Regions from separate parts of the Homo sapiens genome. Here region 2 is linked to region 1. Evidence: promoter capture Hi-C in 16 types of primary human blood cells and fetal thymus (Javierre and others, 2016). All regions are on one chromosome and are shown on one strand. The core of a region is centred on a gene start or on the middle of the fragment in contact, and the rest is flanking DNA. Distances in the headings are between cores, read along the strand shown.

Region 1 (6,712 bases), core at 3,858-6,357:
GTAGAAAATGTGGCAGACACAGAAGAGTGAGACACTAATCGTGGAATTCCACATATGCTAAGAAAAGATGTACAATAAGTCATCCTGTGTAAACAGTGTCTTCCAAGACTCTCCACAATTCATGGAATTTCCCACTCAAGGACTCTGTGTCAATTTTTAATGAACCAGTTACTGAACATTGTACCTAAGACCATGACAACTTATGCTCAGCCATTCCATGCTCTTCCATACCCAGTGCAGACAAATTTATTGGGGTTTAATTCAAAATGTGCAAAAAAGAAAAATTTGCAAATTGTTTTTAAAAAGGTACCATCTACTCTCACTATTAGGAGCAAGTTTTACTACAGATTGCTCAAATAATAAATTCCTGGGATTGAGGCCCGTCTACATTACCTTGTGGTGCTTCTTTTTCTCTGTACACACTCACAGCGTAATCAGAGTAAACTACTGCAATGCATACCATCTTGCAGATGTTTCATTATGTTCTTCTATGAGATAGGCTTCTTAACCAAGGACAAGAGAAATTGTCAATTAATACCTGTCTCATTTAATCTGCAGGTGAATAGAGGGCTCAGACAGCTGTGTCTCCTCAGGGGCTTCTAATTAAAAAGGATTAAGAATATATATCCCTGCCGAGTTTCCCAGATTTCTCAATACAATCACTTTCACTCCAAGAACGTTGGCTACAGCACTATCCTATAAATAAATACCAGTCATATTTTGAGAAAGACTCAAATCAGATAACTAGAATTGCAAGCATGAAGTCAGTTCTAAATAGGTTCTGGACCCTAAACACTACAGATTCCTACTTTCCACTTTATCCCAGGCCCCTACCTGGAAAACGCTCCCTCCCCTCTGTTCAATTAAATCGTCCATGTCCTTTGAGGCACATGTCATTCCCTCCATGAAAGGTTCTGTGACCCACTGACCTCATGGTACATCCCTCTCCTGGGACCCATGAATCCCCTGAAATTGCAAGAGTCTCTTGAGGCACTTAGCATAGCTGGTCACACACTCTGACCTCGAGGCAAATCCCAAGGCTTCTCTCCTCCTGTTTAGACAATCTATAAAAAATATCCTTGGACCCTGCCAGATGGTCCGGGGATATTTTGAAGAACAGAGGTACAATTAGGGCACAGAGCTGACAGGGCACAGGAAGAAGATGTTTAGCTGGAGGAATAAAAATGAGGTGAATAGTCTGTTTTTAAAAAGATTTAAAAGGATTTTCTTCTCTTGTGTGTGGCGTAGGCTATAAGTAAAATTTATCAGGTCAAGATCAGCATTTGGTGTAACCTTGATCTACCTCTAGTCTAAGTCTAAATTTACAGGGATACAGAGAGCCCTTGAAGCTGGGCATGATTCAGACTAGCAGCAGGGTTGGAGTCTCCAGAGAAACTAGGTCCATAGGTAATAAAGAATTCCTTACACCTGCAGGGTTCTGTACATGGCATCTATCTAGGATAGAGGCTGGAAGCTGAAGGGAGATTCAGGGAGTCCTGGGTTCTGCTTCTGGCCGAATCCCATCCTATTAAAAATCATACACCACCTTGTAGAGTTAGTTGTCTATTTTAAACTCTTTCTAATTTTACTAATAGATTGGAAACCCCTTGAAGAGAATTATCTCCCTAGCAACCATTTATCATGCCTTCCACATAATAAATGTAAAGTGCTCAATGGTTTAAATTAGAAATGACTTCTTAGTGAAAAAAAAAAATCACATGGAGAAAAAGAAATATCCTAACCAAAATATCCTGCCCAACAAGTAAAACAGGCAATTTAATACAGCTATGCACAGTAGAACTCGCTAGAATAATTGCTTCCCAGACTGCAGGCTCCAAGGGGAAAGAATCACCTTTGTGCCCGCCACAGAGGAGATCAACAAATAACTATACTTAACTAATTAACTACAAGTAACTCAAAAGTTGTATTTCAACACCCCCCATATTAGTTTTCTATTGCTACTGCAACAAATTACCACAAACTTAGTGGCTTAAACTGACACAGAATTATTGTCCTATAGTTCTGTAAGTCTAAAGTCTAACTGGACTAAAATCTAGGTGTCAGGAGGGCTAGGTGTCTAGGTGTAGGGCTAAGTTCATTCTGAAGGCTGGAGGGGAGAATCTGGTTCCTGGCCTTTCTCAACTCCTAAAGGTGGCCTGCATTCATTGGCTCATAGCCCCTCCCTCCATCTTCAAAGCCAGCAGGGTAGCATCTTCAAATCTCTCTCTGTGACTCAGACACTTTTGCCTCCCTCTTAATAAGGACAATTGTGATTACAGGCAACCACAGTAATCCAATAAAGCTTCCCATCTCAAGACCCTTAACTTAATCTCATCTGCAAACTCCCTTTTGCCATGTTAGGTAACATATTTGCAGATTTCAGGAATTAGGATGTGGACATTTGGGGGCCATTGTTCTACCTACCACCACTCCCCCACCACAAACACACACACACACACACACACACACACACACAAACACACAAATGACTATGTGGCAATGTCAGACATTTGTGAAGCTCCCCAGTGCTGATAGAGGATTTTTAGAATTTTTCACATTGCTCCCATCAGAGAGATAAAAACAGAGCAAAGGAAAGATGCCACTACCCCCACCTTCCAGGGGAGAGCGGGTACATGTCTTCTCCTCTGTGGCCAGCCTCTCCCTTGACTTCTTACACTGCGGCTGCAACTACAAAGTTCATCGCCAACTGAAATGTATTAATCAAATAATTTTTATATGTGATAGGTGGTTATGGGAACCTCTTTTATAAAGGAAACGAAGTTAAAACCAGAGGATCACTTAAAATTGGGGTGTACCCACGTTTATTTTGTCAAGCTCCAGCATCTGTAATCCCAGATATTTGGGAGGCTGAGGCAGGAGGACTGCTTGAGCCCAGGAGTTTGAGGCTGCAGTGAGCTATGATCATGCCACTGCACTCCAGCCTGGGCCACAGAGGAACACTCTGTCTCTAAAAATGAAAAAGAATATTTTATCAAGCTCAGCATCCTGAATCCCACTCAGAAGGCTACTGCCCCCATGATTCCTTAGGGCTTTAGCCTCAGAGTGAAGCAATGTGGGAGCCTTCCCTAGAAAAATCAAATTTCTATGATTTGGTTTTTGAACAAAATAAGTAACAGAGGAGAAGAAAGAAAAACAGAGAAGACCAGAGGAGAAGAGGAAATGAGAGGGAAAGGAAAGGGAGGAGAGGAGGAAAAAGAGAGATGGTAGATAAAAATTTTCAGGGCATGCTTCCTTAGGAAGCAAAAACTTAGGCAACGCTTGCATCCGGTTTTCCTGAGGAGTGCAACACACTGGAATCTGGAGTGGAGGAAAGGACAGTAGAGTGGCAAAACATAGCAAATAGAAGGGTATCCTCTCCCAGCTGGGCACATCTTCAAAATCAAGTATATCGTGCCTATCACATGGACAGCCTCCAGATGCTACCCGGAAACTAGAACCACATGGGGAGGGAAGGAGAGCAATTGATCTGTAGGCTTGTTCTTGTCTCCCATTCTCATCAGTCCAAGTTCATATAAGTTGTGTTACCTGGTCGCTCTGGGAAGCCATTGGGAAACCAGACATCACTCCCTGAACACAGTCTTTATCTCAGTTCTAAAGGAGTAGGAAGGCCAGAGCCCTGTGAGCCTGGTCTTAGCTAACTCCAAGTTCAAACTCAACTGATCCACTGTCTCTAGGGATGCCTTTGCAGGACAGACCTTGATGGAAGCATGGGACCTCAAACCCCCCTGGTCTGTCTTTAGCTACTACATTCAAGGCCCCAGGAACTTAGTTAAGACAATTCATCCCCAGGGAAACTAGCTGGGCTTCCATCTTGCTTCTTCTTGGCCACAGGACCAAGACTCTATCACTTTAGTGCTGGATATGCTGTGGTTCTACATCCATGAGCACAGTGGAGGTCACAACAGCCACATTGCATAGTCACAGTGAGCTCTGTGATGTGTAGGAAGTGAGCCAGGGGCACAGCTGCCCAGAGAGCCCTTGCCACAGAGGAAGTTATGGTTCAAGACTTATGGGAAAGAAAAGATGTAACATGGGGCACTGAGAGGCACATAAAATTGGACCCGATACCAAACCCAAGCACACAGTAACTTGTACATAACACCAAATTATGCCATGGCGATGAAGTGCTTTGAATTTCAGTGGGAAAAAAATCTCCCAAAGCTGAGGGGACAACGACAGCATCAGAGAAGCAGCAGCTCTCAAGCTAAGCTATGAGGGAGAGCTTGTAATAAGTAATTCCCAAAGATGGAGGTTGCGTAATCACGCTGTAATCACATAAGTGCATCAGGTGCTGTCCTAGAAACTTTCCATTAAATAGTCCATTTAATCAACCGCTCTGTCTGGGAGAGTTAAGGATGTCATTCCCATTCAACTAATAAGGAAGCTGACAATACAGTTTAGTGGAGGTCATTCAAAGTAGCAAAAAGAGCTAAAGATGTGGAAGAGTTGACGGCTCATTAAGGAGAAAAGAAAAATATATTTTTAAGGGGTAGATAACCCCCAGACCCAGGAGGGTCTTCAGAGCTGGGCTGTCGAGTTGGAACATTATTTGGTGACAATGAGGCAAGCAGGGAAGGGTTATCTACTGAGGAATGACTTGTGTATAAAGTTTCAGAAGATAATCCTGCTGGTGGCATGAAGAACGAAGGCAGAGACCAATGGAAAGATAATCAGACTTCTGTCTTCCATGTAGAAGACAGAGGCCCTGGTGACCCTGAAAACTTGAAAGTTGACAAGATGGCAGGAAGGGTGAAGACAACCCCGGGGCTCTTCCACGAGCATATCACAGGTGGCCCAGTGCAACTGAGGGGAACTACATTCCCTATTTGTCCTTCTGCACTGATTGTGCAAAGCTCTCACCATGAGACCTGGCTCACCCAAAGGCTATAGACTAGTGTGAAACTTTCAACTCGCTGTGACTCTCCCAAAGACAGAGTGCATGAGGGCTCAGGACCAGCCCTGCCTTAATCCTCACATATCCTTTGTAGTCGCAGAATCATATCACTTGGCACTTCCATTTCCAAGCAGTTCTAGAACTTTCCAGGTGCACTTGCTAATTATCACAGACCACCGGGTGCTGGGAGAAGCAGCTACGGTGATCACAGCCATGAGCAGAGCACAGTTGGGCCCAAAACTAGTGGCTGCATGAAAATGAAATGCAGAAGACCTGTTTCTTTGCAATATGTTATTATATTCACCAGATAAACATGAAGCTCATGAATTATCTTTCATTCGGTAAGATTAGCAACTCTTAGGAAATGATTTCCTACCTGGGATGAGAAAAAATCTAATTTATTATAAATGAAATATGCAACCCTATATGCAAACACTTATAGGAGATGGGTTTGTATGAGCTTTGTGCTGTTACAGAAAGCTAAATTTCCCTGGAGACTCTGAAAAGGTTATCACACGTGGTTTCTTACTGTCAGCCTATGGGCGAGGCAGGGTCTGTGAGGAATGGTCTCAAGCAACAGCCTCTCTTAGGAGCCAGTAAACTGCACTCTCTGGAGTCTGCTCCCCACCTGCCCTCATGCCCTTCTTCCCCTCCTCAGCAATCACAGTTCCAAATCAGTTCCTCTCACTTCCTTCAAGTCTTGCCCCTCACCTCCATTTGAGAATTCAAAGTAGAGTTTAGATCTTTTACAGGTCTGCTGGAGAAATTGGCTCTGAAAACATGACTTAAATTAGAGCTTAAGCAACCAGAGAAAAATATTCAAGACCTAGAGAGAATTTCAGGAGAACATTTATACATATCCTGTTATAGTATAATAGGTGGAATGGTGGTCCCCAAAAATAGGGTCACGTGTGGTGGCTCATGCCAGTAGTCCCAGCATTTTAGGAAGCCAACGTGAGAGGATCATTTGAGCCCAGGAATTCAAGACCAACCTGGGCAACACAGCAAGACCCCATCTCTACAAAAAAAAAAAAAAAACTAGCTGAATGTGATGCTGCATGCTTATAGTACTAGCTGCTAGGGAGGCTGAGGCAGGAGGATCTCTTGAGCCCAAAAGTTCGAGCCTACACTGAGCTATGGTCACACCACTGCACTCCAGCTTGGGTGACAGAGGGAAACCGTGTCTCAAAAAAATGAATAAAAATGAAAAAGATACGTTCCCATCCTAATTCCCAAAACCTTTAAATGTTAATTTATTGGGGAGAAGTATGTTTGCAGTTGTGATTAAGAATCTTGAGATAAGATGATCCTGGATAATTAGGTGGGCCCTAACTTCAATGACAAGTGTCCTTATAAACAAAGGGCAAAGGGAAATTTGAGACAGAAGAGGGGAAGACACAGAGAATAGGAGGAAGCAATGTAACCATGGAGGTGGAGATTGGAGAGATGCAACCACACACCCAAGAATGCCGACAGCAACCAGAAGCCAGAGGGGCAATGGATGGAATATCTTCTGGAGCCTCTAGAAGGAGTATAGCCCTGACCCTGACAACAACCCCATTTCAGACTCCTGGCCTCCAGAACTCTGAGAGAATAAGTTTCTGTTTTAAGCTACATAATTTGTGATAATTTGTGACAGAAACCACAGAAGACAAATACACCTGGTTTTAAGCAGACAACTTAAACCATTGTTAATCATTTCTTCTTCCACTGCCTGCCGTGCCATATACACAGGCCTATACACATTAACAACACTACCGCCAATACCATCATCTTCTGAAAAGTTTTATTTGCATG
Region 2 (6,541 bases), core at 792-3,291, 700 kb before region 1:
GTTTCTATGATCAGAGGATGTGGTTCCCACACTTCCATGCTTAGCCCGTATTGTCTCCATTATAAGAGAAAAGATACCCTCTTTTTTCAGGTTTAATTATAAAAAGCTTAAGGGAAAGGTGTCAGGGAAAAAAATCAATTAAAGCTCGTGACATATTATTGGAGGAAATGATAATCTTTCAAAGTTGTTTTCCCATTCATGGAGAGTTGTTATTGAATATTTTATGAAAAAGTTTTAGCTGAACTTTTACACTACCTTTAGCCTCTGAAAGAAATCACTTGCTTAAATTAAAATAAATAGAGAAGGTCTTATATCTCAGATGTGAATAGCATCCTACAAATATTTATTTTTATTCACACTGTCACAGCTGAGCAGTGGATTCCAAGGATACTGAGGGAGGTTATAAAATCTAGAACATTGAAAGTAATCTAATTTTAACTGCCACTCAATGCAGAAATCACTGAAAAGTAATATCTTTTTCCTTGTTGATAAACTCAATAATCCAAAGAAAACACAAAGGTCATAATAGTTCTATAAATTTATGATTTATAAATATACATTTAAAACAAGCCAAAGTATTTCTCCCTATAACTGTTTCCATTACTCACAGTTGTAAACCTTAAGTCTTTCTGTCTTCTGTGCTCTCTCTCTCTTTCTCACACACACACAACACAAACACACACACACACTGAATAATTAATTTTCTCCTATATTTAAACACAACCGTAATGTCCTCCAGTACCTAACATTTCATATTTTCCCTTTTCCATCATAACATTTCAGATTTATTCAAATATTTCATAATTTTATATTTAATCACCTAGTTGACATCTTCTGAGAAAACTCTAAATACTCTTTTAAAAATGTAAACAAAAAGCAAATATGATTGTCAGCAAAATGTGTCTTCCTTGAAAACACACCACCATTATGAGTGTACTCTCAATAATTCTGTTAAGAATCCAACCAGTTTTCATGGCAGAAGACATGCACTTGCTCAGTCTTTTAGGCACTGGCATGCCCGGAGAATCTCCCCACACACTAGGCCTGATGACATTACCGATGGAAATGGATGTCCAAGGAAAAGACGTCTGGGGGCCTGGAGCCCCCAAAACAGATCACAAATCAAACTTTGGAAACCAATAAAAGACAAAGAGAACATATTGGAATCAACAGTAAATGAATTTATTACGTGAAACAAAACTGAACTTCCATATACTTTATAAGATGAACTTACGTGATAACGAATCACTTGTTTCAAAATTATAGACATTTGACTCTATATTTTGCTCATTCATTAATTTCACAGTCTGAAAGAACTAGCCTGTCCAGCCAGTACTTGATGCCAGAGAAAGGATGAAGAGCTAGTAGTAAGAGGGGTTAGCTCACATTGCTGGAAATGCCTATGATAACAGCTCTACGTAGAGACTGAGACACTTTGCTTAAAAGGTCTGGAAATTCAGCAAGTTGATCTGCAGAAGGTTGATCCATAGGCTGGTCTGTAACAAGGAGACTGGCAGCTCCTAGAAGCCAAGTAGGTTGGGCGGCAGAATCCAGATCCATAGCCGAGGGAAGGGAAGCCACAGCTTCCATAACCCAGGGATCTGACACCACTGGACCCACAGCCCACTGAGTAGCAGCTCCTCGATCCATAGCCCAGGGAGCGGCAGCTGCTGGATCCAAAGCCTAGAGACCCAGAGTAAGTCGTCTTGCAAGGACTGCAGAGCAAGGAGGTTCTGGGGCGGTAGCAGGAGGTCTGGCAGGGGCTGGACTCCACATAGGACGTCTGGCAGCTGGTGGGCTCCCAGCAGATCTCCTGACAGCCCCTATAGAGAGAGGAACCCAGCTGGCAGGTGCTGGGAGAGCAGAGGTCAGTGCTGTAGACCAGATTGCTGGGGTAGGAAAAGCCACGTGAGGATGCTGGGTAGCGCAGGTAGTCACCACAGGAGCGGGAGGAGAAGTTTCCAGAGCAGCAGTTGTAGGACATGTTGACGGGAGATGTGAGTTCAGCTGAGTTATAGTGGAAAGATTCTCTGAGTTTGAATGTCATAGTCTGGACTCCAAGTTATATATGCTCTTAGACCTGGGTGTGTCCACTGTCTCGACACTCCCTTCTCCTTGCTCACTTTTTATTATAAGAATGCTTCCCTAGGTTATTGTTTAATTTATCACATCTTCATATACTTACTTGTACTTTAGTCACTCTGGAACACTTAGAAGGAAGCCACTCAGTTTTTTTTTTTCCTGGAATTCACTGTGGTTTGACCTTCAATGTTATATGTCATCACATTTATGAGTATCTTGCCTCTTATTATTTGAGTACAGTGAGTCCTTATTGTACCAAATGGAATTACACAAAATTCTTTCTTTACTTCCCTTAAGTTATCAGGAGCATCAGTGGTTACTACTCAAAATAGATTGTCCTTCTTTTTAACACAAGCATATTATTTGTTACCAGAAACGGAGGATTTCTCCAAATACTAACTGTATTCAGTAGCCTCAGCAATCTGTCAGTTAAACCTTTTACTAGTACCTTAAGAGCTCAGGATCAGAACTGAGGAGTGCAGCATTATGTTGGGTGTCCATATCAGGCATCTTCCTTAACAAGAGGCTACTTTAGACAATGCTCACTTAGGAAACAATAAACACAAACTTTTTAGTAAGACTTTAAATTGAAGTTTTTCAGATATTTTCTGATGAACCTATCTTGTAGCAAGCACTATTCTATGGTTATGCTCTAAATCAACTCATAAATTTTATTTTGTTTTATGTTTCAATTTTTTTTTCTGGATAAAAGGACAGATTCTTAGCTGCAATTATTAATTTATACTTAAACTTTGAGGAATTGTTAACATTTTTCTGAAGCTTTTAACTTGAAGTATTAGAGTTATATGGGTCTTTAAACATCCCCTGTTCAACCCATACATGGAAAAATTACCTCTCAGAGAGCTTTAACTTTCCCCTAATTTCTCAGTAAGATAGAAGCAAAATTGAAGCTTTAATTATGGTTTTCTTATTCAGAGTCAAGTTGCAAATACCTTGCAAATATAAAAGTAAATTCAACTTTAACTTGTCTCAGAAAAGAAACTATTAAGCTTATTTATACTAAGATATAAAAGCCTAACAAAGCCTTATTTACTTTTCCTAACAATATTCACACTGAATAGTGTTCAACTGGGGAATTCTATGCCTTACTGATCTTCATACATTTGAAGTATATTTCACTTCCTAGCCCAAGAAAGAGAAAGAATATTGGTAATCCATGTTTAGATTAATGGGGGGAAGAGGCTTCTTATCTGTGTCTATTCTTCTTCTTTTGAATTTGACATTTTATTTGGTTTAACTAAGGGAAATGGCATTCACAATGGTTATCGAAAAGAGAGCCTCTTAACTACCTGAAAATTAACTTCCTTCATTCCAAAGCACACTGTTTCAGAGCACTTAGTTACTTTGTTTTATGATTATCTCTCCCATGCAGAATCCAAAGTGTGGCATGCATCACATGAAGTGCCCTTGTGCAATACTTAAACCATCACTCTGATTCACTGAAGTAAAATAAGCTGTGCTTTATGAATGGACACCTATTAAATTCACCAAAAAGTATGCACCACCCCCAACACATGGGATTCCTTATAATGGCAGCTTTTAACACCTTTAAAATGAGAAATATTTTTCTTTTCTTACTACAGGTTGATTCTGCTCAAAAAAAAGAAAACAAAAAACTTACTAATATCCAAAAGTTCTTGCCTTTCTAGACCAGCTCCCTATGTCTGGGAATAAACACTAAAATAACTTGGGAGTAAGTCAGTTCCAATTAACAGTCCCTCCACCCATTCCTAATTGGGTTAACACTTTTTATTAGGAGTTATTTGTGCACTTTGTACAAATGCTAATGAACAACTCCCAAATGCTAATAAATGTGTCCATCTGAAAGGCAGAAAAAGCAGAACAAAACTAGAGTAGCCTTAACAGTTCAAAAGTGGATTCTGGAACTAATAAAATACTCTACGTACTCTACATACACAGGCAAAGTATTAGTATAGAAAGAAAAATTCACTATCTTGATATGTCAGGGAAAACGTGATATTGAAATCTTTTCTCTCTCTCTCCTTCCTTCCTTCCCTCCCTCCCTCTTTCTTTTTCTTTTTCTTTCTTTTCTTTCTCTGCCTCTCTTTCCTTTTCTTTTTCTTTCTTTTCTTTCCCTCCCTCCCTCTCTCTCTGCCTCCTTCCCTCCCTTTCTCCCTCTCTCTCTTTCTCTGTTTCTCTTTCTTTCTATTTCTTTCTTTCTTTTCTCTTTCTTTCTTTCTTCTTTCTCTTTTCTCTTTAGAAATTTAGGCATAACAACACTACAGAGAATAAAACTATCATTACAGTACACAGTAGCCACAAGTAGCCTATGATCTGAATTACTTGAAAAGTGATTGTTTTTCCAAGTTAACATAGTAATGTAGCAGAAGCTTTAAACTGACAATCTTCTATTGCAATGTTTCCAGAGATTCTTCAAAAGCTTTCAAATTAACCAAATATTAGGCAGTAGTAGAAATAGTAAAAATCCATATATACTGCCCTATACCTTTTTTACTTTCTTTTTTTTTTTTTTTTTTCCGAGACGGAGTCTGGCTCTGTCACCCAGGCTGGAGTACAGTGGTGCAATCTTGGCTCACTGCAAGCTCTGCCTCCCGGGTTCACACCATTCTCTTGCCTCAGCCTCCCGAGTAGCTGGGACTACAGGTGCCCGCCACCACGCCTGGCTAATTTTTTGTATTTTTAGTAGAGACGGGGTTTCCCCATGTTAGCCAGGATGGTCTTGATCTCCTGACCTCATGATCCACCCGCCTCGGCCTCCCAAAGTGCTGGGATTACAGGCGTGAGCCACCGCGTCCGGCCACCTTTTTACTTTCTGTTCACTTTTTAATTTTCTGCCTTCTCTAGACCTAGGAGAGGCTTTTATTGTCTGGTCACTAAAGAGTCTTCATAACAGCTGCTTTACACTAGATTTTATTTTTAAAATTCTCACCCAAGGGGAAATGTATCTATTAAACATTAATGCTAACTATGAAGAACCCACTACTGAGTAAAGGCTTGATGAGAACTCCCTGGACTAACCTGTTCATGGTCTCTTCCCAGTCCCCCATGCAAGCCTACCCAGGCCTGTGGCTTTCTCGGAGGTCATCCGGCCTCATTGTTTGAGACTTTTCCAGGCCCTGGCACCTCCTCTAACTTCACTACAGCTCTTCCTGCTTCAAATTCATCCATTTTATGTCTTCATCATCCATGACTTTCGTTTGAAATAAAAAGGCCAGGCTGGGCGCAGTGGCTCACGCCTGTAATCCCAGCACTTTGGGAGGCCGAGGCAGGTGGATCACGAGGTCAGGAGTTTGAGACCAGCCTTTCAAACATGGCGAAATCCCGTCTCTACTAAAAATACAAAAATTAGCCAGGCGTGGTGGCAGACATCTGTAATCCCAGCTACTGGAGAGGCTGAGGCAGGAGAATCGCTTGAAACTGGAAGGCAGAGGTTGCAGTGAGCCAAGGTCATGCCACTGCACTCCAGCCTGGGCGACAGAGTGAGATTCCGTCTCAAACAAACAAACAAACAAAAAGATTTATAAACAGCCTGCTTACACACCTCTCGGTTCTTCTTATCTCTTCTGAGACCTTACCCTTGCATTTACTGAAAACAAATAGAAAATTAAAGTAAATTCTAGAGTCATTTTCTGGATGCCTAAACTCACAATTGTTACCACGTTGTCAGATTTGCGTTCATCTTTCTCTTTTTTATTTTAAATGTTTATGGATACATAATGTTGCGCATATTAATGGGGTACATGTGATATTTTGATACAGGCACACGATGTGTAATGATCAAATCTGGGTAACTGGCATATCCATCACCTTAAACATTTATCATTTTTTTTGTGTTGAGAACATTCCAAATCTACTTTTCTAGTTATTTTGAAATATGCAATACATTATTGTTAACCACAGTTGCTGTACTGTGTTACTGAACACTAGATCTTATTCCTCCTATCTAACTATATTTTTGCACCCATTAACCAACACCTCTCTGTCCTTTCTTTCCACTACCCTTGCAAGCCTATGGTAACCACCATTCTATTCGCTATCTTACAGAGAGAGACCCCTTGTGGGCCAGTCTCTCAGTCTGATTCTTTTTCATATCTTTCCAAAGGCATCACAATAATGCATTCGTTTTTGCATAGCATTCCAGGAAATTGTCTATACATATATTTATCGGTTTATACCATTTATTGTTGTTTTAAGTTACAAAAATGCCATCTTATTGGATACATATATGTATCTGTAGCTTTCTTTTTATATTAAATTTATTTAAATAAAAATATCTAAAACATATCCAAGTTGATATTTATATATTTGTGCATTTATTATCACTACAGTAGAACTTTTAAATGTCAGGCACTGTTCTCAGCACTGTATTACAAATATTAACTCAATCCTCATAATAATTCTACATGGTACACACCACTTTTATTCTTGTTTTATAGCTGAGGAAGCTGAGACACAA

What was found. The method cuts DNA at HindIII sites, captures the fragments that hold promoters and counts their contacts. A CHiCAGO score of 5 or more calls a contact.
Region 2: the fragment with the promoter of KRTAP13-2 here is called in contact with a fragment that was not itself captured in region 1 in 4 of 17 cell types (activated CD4 T cells, naive CD8 T cells, naive CD4 T cells and 1 more); the score reaches 9.6 in activated CD4 T cells.

Annotation. Positions count from the first base shown.
Region 1 is chr21:31,071,784-31,078,495 of GRCh38, forward strand. No RefSeq gene overlaps it. Among named protein-coding and RNA genes, the nearest start is that of KRTAP19-8, 37 kb to the left of the region's middle. The HindIII fragment of the contact is 5,615 bases long and covers 2,301-6,712 here.
Region 2 is chr21:30,370,230-30,376,770 of GRCh38, forward strand. KRTAP13-2 (keratin associated protein 13-2) reads right to left here and starts at 2,042. Exons shown (of 1, transcript NM_181621.4): 1 at 1,161-2,042. The coding sequence starts at 1,984. The coding sequence ends at 1,457. MIR4327 (microRNA 4327) reads right to left here and starts at 5,149; the gene lies at 5,065-5,149. The HindIII fragment of the contact is 2,756 bases long and covers 105-2,860 here.